Linked DNA regions of Homo sapiens: region 2 is linked to region 1. The links are contacts of gene promoters, found by promoter capture Hi-C in human tissues and cell types (Jung and others, 2019). All regions are on one chromosome and are shown on one strand. Each heading gives the region's core, a stretch centred on a gene start or on the middle of the fragment in contact. The rest is flanking DNA. Distances are from core to core; before and after follow the strand shown.

Region 1 (5,338 bases), core at 2,062-4,561:
CCTTGTTTGAGTGGTACTTCACTCTCCAGTTAGGAGGACCCTGCTCCAGTCACAGCGGGGCAATCACTGTTAATGTCAGATGAGGAGTCTGTACTCAATGGCCAGAAAGCATTGTACTACAGCTCCATGCTATCCAAACCTTGTGGGGTGATGTCCCTATTCTGCAGTTTAAAATGAAACACTCAAATGTAAATATGACCAGATTGAAGAAGGTTTTTGGAAATCACCGTTTGCCTTTCCCCAATCACACAGGTTGCCCTCATGACCTGAGTGGCCAGATCACTGAATGAGGAATGGGCAGCTTCAGTGAATGAGGAATGGGCAGCTTAGCTTCAGTGCAGGACTCCCAAGTACTTTGGTAAGGAACACAAGGGGAATCCTTAAGCCCGCCTATAAAATGTGGGTTGCATGAATACTACCATGACTATGGGGCTTTTGATAAGTCTGTACACATTAGGATGCCTCATAATCTGTTCGTAATGGCTCTGAAACAATTTTTAAATGACTGGGTGATTCTGACATAAGACAAAGAACAGCATTTGCCCTTTCACATTCAAAGGACAGAGCATTCATGTTGTGATAATAGTGGATAGGATGTTTTTTCTGTTAAGCCTGGGGCTCCTCGAGGTGGATCACACATTATCAGTGCATTTTCTCATCCCGAAATTAAATGATGATGTTCTTGGAAGATTCAGCAGAGGAATGAGCATAACATTACCTAACCCCAGACCTGCCTGCATTATCTTGGCATCCATCTTTGACCCTCTGCAGCATCAGAGAGATGGGTGTGATCCTAGGTGGACTTCAAGATAGCTCCACATAGTTCCAGGCTTGTGTGATTTTTCAACTTCATTATGTAAACACAGGACCTCATTTGGGAATGCAGCCTCATGAGTATAGGCTGTTCCTCAGACTCCCTGCAGATCCAATGAGTGCACTGCTTGGCATTTGCTTTCCATTTGCCACCCATCTCACCTTTATCTCCCAGGCTGGTCCTGTTGATGTTAGTGACAATGTAGCAATTATGCAACAAGCATTGTACATACATTATTTCATCTAACCGTCTGTTGTAATAATACTGTCCATGTTATTATCCCTATTTTACAGATATAAAAACTGTAACTGAGAGAAAGAGGTTAATACATTGACAGAGGTTGCAGAGTAACAGTCAGAATTTGTACCCAAGTCCACCCATTGTCAAAACTCACATGATATACTATACTATATTGCCTCCAAGTATGAGCAAAGGAAGTTACGCTCCTTGACTTTTCACCACTTTATAAAGCTGTTGGGAACAGGCCCCCCAAAATCTGGCCATAAGCTGGCCCCAAAACTGGCCATAAACAAAATCTCTGCAGCACTGTGACATGTTCGTGATGGTCGTGATGGCCATGATGCCCACGCTGCAAGGTTATGGGTCTACCGGAATAAGGGCAAGGAACCCCAGACCCACCCAGGATGGAAAACCGCTTAAAAGTGTTCTTAAACCACAAATAGCATGAGTGATCTGTGCCTTAAGGACATGCTCCTGCTGCAGATAACTAGCCAGAGCTCATCCCTTTATTTCAGCCCATCCCTTTGTTTCCCATAAGGAAGACTTTTAGTTAATCTATAATCTATAGAAACAATGCTTATCACTGGCTTGCTGTCAGTAAATATGTGGGTAAATCTCTGTTCGAGGCTCTCAGCTCTGAAGGCTGTGAGACCCCTGATTTCCCACTCTACACCTCTATATTTGTGTGTGTGTGTGTGTCTTTATTCCTCTAGCATCCCTGGGTTAGGGTCTCCCCGACTGAGCTGGTCTCAGCATAAAGCAATATTAGTAAGTCTAGTCAGGAGACTGGCCTTTTAACTCCTGAGACATCTTGCATGAGTCAAATCCTCAGATTCTTTCTTACATGTGCAATCACATGATATTTACTTGAAGGAAAAATACCTAAGGGTTATGAGTTTGAGCTCATCATAAAGGAAATGAATTTGTACCGGTGAGGTTTGGAAACTACATTTTCAAGGGGGTTAGCCCTAGGACATGGCCACTAATGAAAGCATATTCATTGATTCAGTCTTTACTCAGAGAACACTGAGTACATACATCCAAGGCACGCAGGATGCAGTGACAAATAAAAAAGTCCCTGGCCTCACGTGCTTCTAGTGGCAAACTGAATAAGAAAGAGGTCATTACAATCCAACCTGGCAAATCCTGTGAGTAAATGGCATGTAATAACCCAGTGGTGAGCACCTAATCCAGGTAGACGGTGTCAGGGAAGCCACATCTGTCTTTGAGGGCAGAGTCCAGCTTTCCTTCAATGTCATTTTTCATCATGTGGTTAAAAGGGCCACCAATTTTCCCAGGAAGACACATACTTATTTGTCCTCTGTGATGAGTTGAAGAGAACTAGAGATACCTAGTTACACATTCTCAGTGCTTTGACTACAATTTTTAGTCAACCGAAAAATATCAGTCTAAATACAATCAGGGTACAATTTGGGAATATTGGTGGCAGACTGCAGAAGACAAGTTTCCATGCTCTTGCCTCTCCAGTGGGGAATGTATCCATTTATCCCCAAATCTCTTAGAATTTCTCTACAATCTGGTCTGACACTCTAGCTTAAAGAGTGACCAAAGTATATAACTTGTAGTTTATGTGGAAAACAAAAATGTAGAAAGCAAGCAAGAAACCCTGACATCTTTATGAAATATGCCTGAAACACAGCCGAAAGATAAAATTGTCAAATAGCTGTAAGAGGCAGAACCAGTTTGAGGAATTCATGGCCTAATCCACATTTCCCCCAGATCCTGTGGGGAAACACTGTAGGACAGTTATGGCAATGAACCACTTTGGAATTTGTTGAAAGATTGCTGTGGTAGGATTCCCTCTAAGGACCAGGAAAGGGTTCAAAATCAACCTTTCTCAGGAAATAAGTTTAGATTTTTTTCTAGAATTTCAAGACAGGCTCTAATCGTACAGAAACTTTTCTAGAATGGATGGAGAAGGTGACAAGGCTTCTCAAGGGCCCCAACTCTCACCCGACAATGTTGACTGAGCACTCACTGCTTGGCCAAGCACTGTGCCAGGCACCTGACATAGAATCTCTTGCTTAATCCTCAAGCACACCACTGCCAGGAGATAGCATTCCCATTTTACAGATGAGAAAACCAAGATTCAGAGAGTTTGTAACGTACCCAGACCCCATAGTTCATAGATGGTAGTTTCACACCCAAATGTGCAAAATTCTAGAGGGAGGTCTTCTGAAGTCAATAAGTTCAATAAACTGGTGGGACAAATGCTATGTTGAGCAACCCTGAGGAAGCTTTCTTTCCTTCCTTTCTGTTAGCTAAAAGTTACTACATTTTTCTTGGGCTCTGAAGTCTGCCTGGATTGTGGTATTTAATGTGAGGCAGCTGCAGACTGTGCCCCAAAGCAAATGAGGCTAGAGGAATTCCCCTTTCTGAAGGCATCCCACCTGAGTGTCACAAAGATGTGCAGCTGAAAACAAGCCTGACTTCTGTATATAAAGGAATCTGGGCAGGCAGACCCTCGGCTCTTGGGAGAGGAGGCGGAGAGTCTGCAGCCGGCAGGAACTCCTGGTAGCATTATGTGGCTGCTGCGGTGCGTTTTGCTGTGTGTTTCATTATCTCTTGCTGTGAGTGGCCAGCATAAGCCTGAGGCACCAGATTATTCCAGTGTGCTCCACTGTGGGCCGTGGAGCTTCCAGTTTGCTGTAAACCTCAACCAGGAGGCAACGTCTCCTCCTGTACTAATAGCTTGGGGTAAGTTTGATGACTTGCCTTGCTTAGCCAAGCAATGATATGTCTCCTCTACTACCTAAGATGTCTCCCTATCTTCCCGTATTGATACTTTCACCTTCTGAGCCCTGTTGCATCTTTCTGCAAAAGAAATAGTCTAAGTTATAACTACATCTGATCTGAATCTGATTTCCCTCTTGTTCCTCTTATTGACAGTTGCTCCTTGGGGTCTAATGGCAAGGCTGACTATCCTTTCTGGCACTGGAGACTGACCGCTGTGTTTTCTCACCTCTTCCCCACCCCTCCAGACAACCAAGGGCTGCTGCACGAGCTGCAGAATGACTCCGACTGTGGCACCTGGATAAGAAAAGGTCCAGGCAGCTCCGTGGTGTTGGAGGCAACCTATAGCAGCTGCTATGTCACTGAGTGGGTGAGTATGACCCAATGGCCAGGGAGACTGTGTGAAGCGCCTCATGCTACCATCCAGGCTGACCCCCAAGGGCCTGTCTCTCCAGGACTCCCACTACATCATGCCAGTTGGAGTTGAAGGAGCAGGCGCGGCTGAACACAAGGTGGTTACAGAGAGGAAGCTGCTCAAGTGTCCTATGGATCTTCTAGGTAAAGGCTGGAAGCTCTCAGGGTCTTGTGGGGGTGGTGGGGGTGGGGTGTGAAAGTACTCTTGGTCCTCTCTGACCTGCTCTGTGCAGTGACACCTGACACTAATGAAGGAAGGATCATGTCCCAACTCTCACCTCCATGGGCAATCCTTAGGATAACTACCAATTGAGACTCCTCAATGCCAAGGCACTGTGGGTAAGCACTTCAGGTGTTACCTTCCCTAACCCTAACATAGTGCTGCAAATACTACTGCTGGCCAGGCACAGTGGCTCACACCTGTAATCACAGCACTTTGGGAGGCTGAGGCAGGTGGATCAGGTCGGGAGTTGGAGTCCAGCCTGACCAACATGGAGAAACCCCATCTCTACTAAAAACACACAATCAGCCGGGTGTGGTGGTACATGCCTGTAATCCCAGCTACTCGGGAGGCTGAGGCAGGAGAATCGCTTGAACCTGGGAGGCTGAGGTTGTGGTGAGCTGAGATCGTGCCCTTGCACTACAGCCTGGGCAACAAGAGCGAAACCCTGTCTCAAAAAAAAAAAAAAAAAAAATACAACCTATCTCTTGCCAGGAAGTTTTCCCAAGGGCCTATCACTGGTGAATGACTGAGCTGGGATTCAAAGAACTCTCCCAGAACCAGGAGCTTTTCACCCATGGGGAGAATGATAGGAAATAAAACTGAAGCTAGCAAGGGAACTTGGAAAAATACCTCCACAGAGCTAGATGTGCACTGAGACTAGGACCCAGGTCTTCCATCCCACAAGCTGGAGGGGTATCTGAGCATTTCCCTAAGGAAACAGCAGGAAGTATGATGCCTACTCAACTTTAGAAAGTCTCGCCTGACTGAGAGCCCGTCCTCAAAGTCAGAACAGACTCAAACTATAAATTCACTCTTCTCACCTGCCTTCCTTCCCAATACATAGCCAGGATGGGCAGCACTAATAAAATGAGGAATCATAGGCCCCACCCCAG
Region 2 (5,338 bases), core at 1,049-3,548, 38 kb after region 1:
TATGAGCCCTTTTTATTTTCTATTATTTCACAAGTGGCGCAACCCTTTCTTAGGTCTTCTATCTGATCTACTCGTTTCCAGCTGAAGTTTAGAAAGATAACAAGTGATTCCCCACAGTGTTTAATGCTACTCTGGGTGTTATCAATGATTTCAAAGAACATTGAAAAATTTTCCAAAATCATTTGAACCTGCTTTCTCAAGTATGTGGCACACATTTGAACCATTAAGAGGAGTCATCAGTTGGGGAGGAATGTATGTCTTATTAAGGCTAACAGTGGTGAGATGTCCCTCTCATAAAGCATTAGGAAAGTTTGCTTAAACCACGATACGCATTTTGCCACGGTTCCATGGAAGCAAGTGACTGTCTGAAACTTCAGCCATTGACTCTGAATGCCCTTCACAGTGGGAAGCTGGATGATTTCAAAACCTGGGTGATGGAGGTAGTGAAGGAATGCTTTCTACAAAACAGAATGTTGGCCGGGGTGTGTGGCTCACGCCTGTAATCTTAGCACTTTGGGAGGCCAAGGCAGGCAAATCAGTTGAGGTCAGGAGTTCGAGACCAGCCTGGCCAACATGGTGAAACCCCGTCTCTACTAAAAATTAGCTGGGTGTGATGGCTCCCAGCTACTCGGGAGGCCGAGGCAAGATAATCACTTGAATCTGGGAGGCGGAGGTTGCAGTGGGCTGAGATCGTGCCACTGCACTCCAGCCCGGACGACAAGGCAAGACTCTATCGCAAACAAACAAACAAACCGGAATGTATTTGGGAGAATAATTTCCTTCGGCAATGTAGGAAATTATTGCAGCCTTCTGAAGTGGCTTGAATGTGATTCAACCGAGCATTTTCAAATCTTTTCAGTGTAACAAAAGTAATTTAGGTCTACATTTAAATGTGAGAAGTCCTAGAGGGCAGGCAGTTGATTTATATACTTATCACATTGTGGCTAATCATGTACTTGAAAAGCAAGAGAAAATTACATGAAGTAAGACATGCAAGTATGTAAAGGCCAGGGTGTCTTCAGAAATCAATTACTTGACTCTGGTTAAAAATCACACCGATGCTAACACAGGAGAAGGTTCATATTCAGATGTAGAGAAAACATGACCTTCACAATCTGAGCTAACAAAAGAGCACTGTGTATTGACCTGAGGCAAAACAATCCTCTAGCCTGGAAGAAATAGGAGCTAGTAACCTAATAAACTATAGGCACATGGTTGTAGTTCCATCAGCTGTGATTTCTCTACCCCTGAGGATGTTTTTAGGAAGAGTGCAACATATTAGGACAATGTCGTGGGGGTATGAGCTTCAAATGATTCAGTCTAAAGCCATAAAAAAAGTTCAAATGTATTGCAATTTCTGGAGGAGGATAAGCTTTATAGTATCTCTCTATGCTGTTTCTATTATAAGACAATGACAGCTTGGTTGAAGTTGATATTCTAGATAATGCTGTGTGGTGTTGGTGGGGGTGTGAGAAAGGCAGGAGGTTCTTCACTGAATGGATGTTTCAGTGAGGCAGGTGGCATGCATTGAAGACACAAGGTTGGTGGTAGGACAGAAATTAGAAAGGAACATTTGTGAGACTAATGCTGTTTAAATAGTACAAGAAGCGAAGACAGAAGGTAAAGTGTTGATGGAGGATAGCCAAGGTCAAAGCATTAAGAAACAATGGCAATTCAGAAAGTTTACTTTAGAGGCTGGAAGCAATATATTGACAAGAAGGTTATGCTAAAAGGACATTTGTATGAATGAGGGATGTAACTGCAAGCTGTGGATATATTTGGCTGCAACTCAATAAAAATGATTATGGATAAGAAAAGAAAGACATTTTATTCCCTGATCCAATAGTGACTCAAGTTTAACACTGGCAGCTCTGGAGTTGAAGATGTGGCAAAAAGTTTAGGATGAGCCTGACAGAAACAAGAAAAAGATGCAGGGAGGGAAGGTCCTTTGGGATGTATCTAAAAAGAAAAGCAGCCTACCAACACTTTTATTTATTATTATTTTTTGAGATAGAGTCTTGCTGTGTTACCCAGGCTGGAGTGCAGTGGCATGATCTTGGCTCATTGCAACCTCTGTCTCCGAGGTTCAAGCAATTCTCTTGCCTCAGCCTCTTGAGTAACTGGGATTACAGTTGCCTGCCACCACGTCGAGCTAATTTTTTGTATTTTTAGTAGAGATGGGGTTTCACCATATTGGCCAGGCTGGTCTCGAACCCCAACCTCAGGTGATCCACCTGCCTTGGCCTCCCAAAGTGCTGGGATTACAGGCATGAGCCACAGCTAACATATTTAAACTGTGATCCATTTCCTTCTTTACATTCTCATAAGGGACATTTTAAAAATAATTGCTTCATAATTGATTTGGGTACATTAGGTGGAAGACATGCAAATAATATGGAAGAGAAATTCCAGTTAAGGAACAAAAGAGAAGCTTTTAGAGGTTATCGGTTTCCAGGAAGCAAGTAAAATGATAAATGAATAGAAAAGACCATAAACTTCCTGTGCCAAAGGAAAGCGTCATCTCGAACACACACCATTTATTTCAAGCCCATTGTGAAGACAGCTAGAATGTAATCTCAAACCCTAACCATAATTAGATTTTGCAAAATGTTTAACTACTAAATCAACTAAAAGCACCAAGGAGAATCAATGTATTTGATTTACCATGTTTGAAACATGGATACAGACTACTAAAAAGTCTGTATGGCAAAGACTAATATTTACCGAGCATTGTTCGCGTACATACTAATATTGGTAGCTTTACCATTTAATTCTCATGACATGCAATGAGGTAAGATAATATCATCATTCTACAGAGATGGAAACTGAGATTTAAATGGGTTAGGAAATGTGCCATATTCTGTTGACCCCCGTTTCCAAAGTACCCAGCCTGGTGTCCAATAGAAAGGTATTTAGTAACTCTCTGCTAAATGAATATATTAAGTAGTGATACCTAGAATCACACCTGAAATACCTAATGCAATGCTAAGTCTTTGAGGTCTCTGCTCTATTGCTTATTACTAATACGACTGAGATGCAGTTTGAAGTGTGAATATCATAACATGAACAATCTTCAGCTGCCACCAAGACAAGCCACCTCCTTTCTTCAGTACTTTGATGGATAATCAAATGGAATATCTACCAGAATAATCCAAACAGCTATGGAGAGAGTACATAAAACTTGCAATTTAGCCCTTCCCTCTTTTCCCAACCAAAAATTAGTATCTAACTTCAAGATAGACTTAAAAAATTAGAGGAAATATACTTTAATGAAGTAGCAGCAAACCCCCAAATTTATGAATAAATTAAACTCCAAGGTATTCAACATTCAGGTAGTCATCACAGTGTTGATTTTTACTTTTTTTTAGGGCAAAAGGGTGGGGGAGAAAATTATGCTTATAGGAGATGAGTGAATGAAGCCACTTCAGAAAAGTTTTAAAATATGAGCTGAGAAACAATAAAATCAGAGTTGTGGCAAGGAGATATCCTGTCCATATTCATTTACCATCTCCTTCAAGTAAGCAGTCAACTTGTCTCAATGTGGTGCAACACGGTTGTATAATAATTATATTAGGAACAGAATGCTGATAGATACTGGAAGTGATGTCAAAGCAGCCTCACGAGTGCTCCACTGGCGCCCCCTGCTGTCTCCTCTGTAGTCATGCTATGTATCTTTAGCTCTGTTGAATTGCTTTTCCCTGGCCGATAATGCCTTTTCCCATGGTGTTAATTAGGTTGCAAAGCTCCACTACCAACACTGAAACAACTTCAGTAGAACGCAGAATTCCAAGAGAACTGTGACCCAGTTTTTATGGTCGTGTCTTTATAAGGAAAAGCCCCAAGATACTTAGGAGTTAATCCACAGCCTCATGAAGAGTAAACCAAGGCCATTCCAATGGGTGGTGCCTGGCAAGAGAGCCAAAACACCAGTCGACCAGAAAACATTTTTGTAAGATAGAGCTGGAAATTCTACTTGCATCACAAACTCAAATGGCAAGTCGTTTGTTCCTTTAACATATATTGAGCATCTATAACTTATTGAAAATTATTCTAAGCATTGCTGGATACAAGCAGAATAAAGTGGTAACATTGACTTTCAGGAGTTCACCTTCTCATAAAAAAGGTTTGCTCAAAAAAACTTTCTGGCTTGGCACAGTGGCTCACACCTGTAATCCCAGCACTTTGAGAGGCCAAGGTGGGTGGATCACCTGAGGTCAGGAGTTTGTGACCAGCCTGGCAAACATGGTGAAACCCCATCTATACTGAAAATACAAAAATTAGCCAGGTGTGGTGGTGCACACCTGTAATCCCAGCTACTCGGGAGGCTGAGGCAGGAGAATTGTTTGAACCCAGGAGGTGGAGGTTGCAGTGGGCCAAGATCATGCCACTGCACTCCAACCTGGGCAATGGAGCGAGACTCCATCTCAAAAAAAAAAAAAAGCAAAACAAAAACTTTCATTAAAGTAATATTTACAAATCTATACACAGAACCGTAGAGAGGGAATTTGTTCTTGGTGTAATGGTATGTAATGGTAGGTGACAGCCCTGATCATCTTCCCAGGGAAAACAAAAATACTAAAAATACAAAAAGCAACTTTGGTTTAAATAACTGTTTTTATTAAAGTCTAACATACATACAGAAACATGTGCAAATAATTGCATAGTCAGGTTATCACAAATGAACACACCTGTATAGCAACCACTCAAATCAACAAATGTAACCCTACTGGCATTTCAAAAGCCAGCCTATGCTTCTCTGTGCTTCTAGTCACAAACCCCTCCTTCCACCAAGCTGACTTTAAAGGTAATTTTTGCCTGTTGAGAATCACACAATATTTCTTTTGTTACATCTGACATCTTTCGCTCCACTGTGAGACTCATCCATATTGTTTTATGTGCAGTCGTTTGGTTTTTATTGGTGTATAGCATTCTATCGTATGAATATAGCACATGAAAAGAGTTTACTTGTCTGCTCAATTGTAGGATGTTTTCCTGCAGTGTTTAGCTATTACGAATAACACACCTATGAAAATTATTACATGCATCTTTTGTTGTACCTATATACACTTGGGTATATCTACCTAATGTTGGAATTTCTGGATCACATGGCATCTAAAGGATAACCTTTAGTAGACACTACCACAGAGAACTATCAACTTATTAAAAACCTTTGATGCATTGGCAAGAATGTAAGAAGTAGTTGAGGTTAAAAAAAGTTCCCTTCCCCTCCCTCTCTCTCATCCTCCCTCCCTCTCCTCTTCAATAATTCAACCTAAAAACCATTAGGTGGAGTGTCTAGATGAGGAGGAGGCAGTGGTAGTGGCCCAGTGTGGAATAT

What was found. The method cuts DNA at HindIII sites, captures the fragments that hold promoters and counts their contacts. A contact is called where the count stands out against the background at its distance.
Region 2: a fragment that was not itself captured here is called in contact with the fragment with the promoter of ZP4 in region 1 in 1 of the 25 tissues and cell types used here (liver).

The regions. Positions count from the first base shown.
Region 1 is chr1:237,888,895-237,894,232 of GRCh38, reverse strand. ZP4 (zona pellucida glycoprotein 4) reads left to right here and starts at 3,311. Exons shown (of 12, transcript NM_021186.5): 1 at 3,311-3,772; 2 at 4,057-4,178; 3 at 4,264-4,366. The coding sequence starts at 3,598. It also overlaps the pseudogene LOC100130331. The HindIII fragment of the contact is 12,268 bases long and covers 1-5,338 here.
Region 2 is chr1:237,849,725-237,855,062 of GRCh38, reverse strand. No RefSeq gene overlaps it. Among named protein-coding and RNA genes, the nearest start is that of ZP4, 39 kb to the left of the region's middle. RefSeq lists an enhancer at 118-679. The HindIII fragment of the contact is 4,306 bases long and covers 146-4,451 here.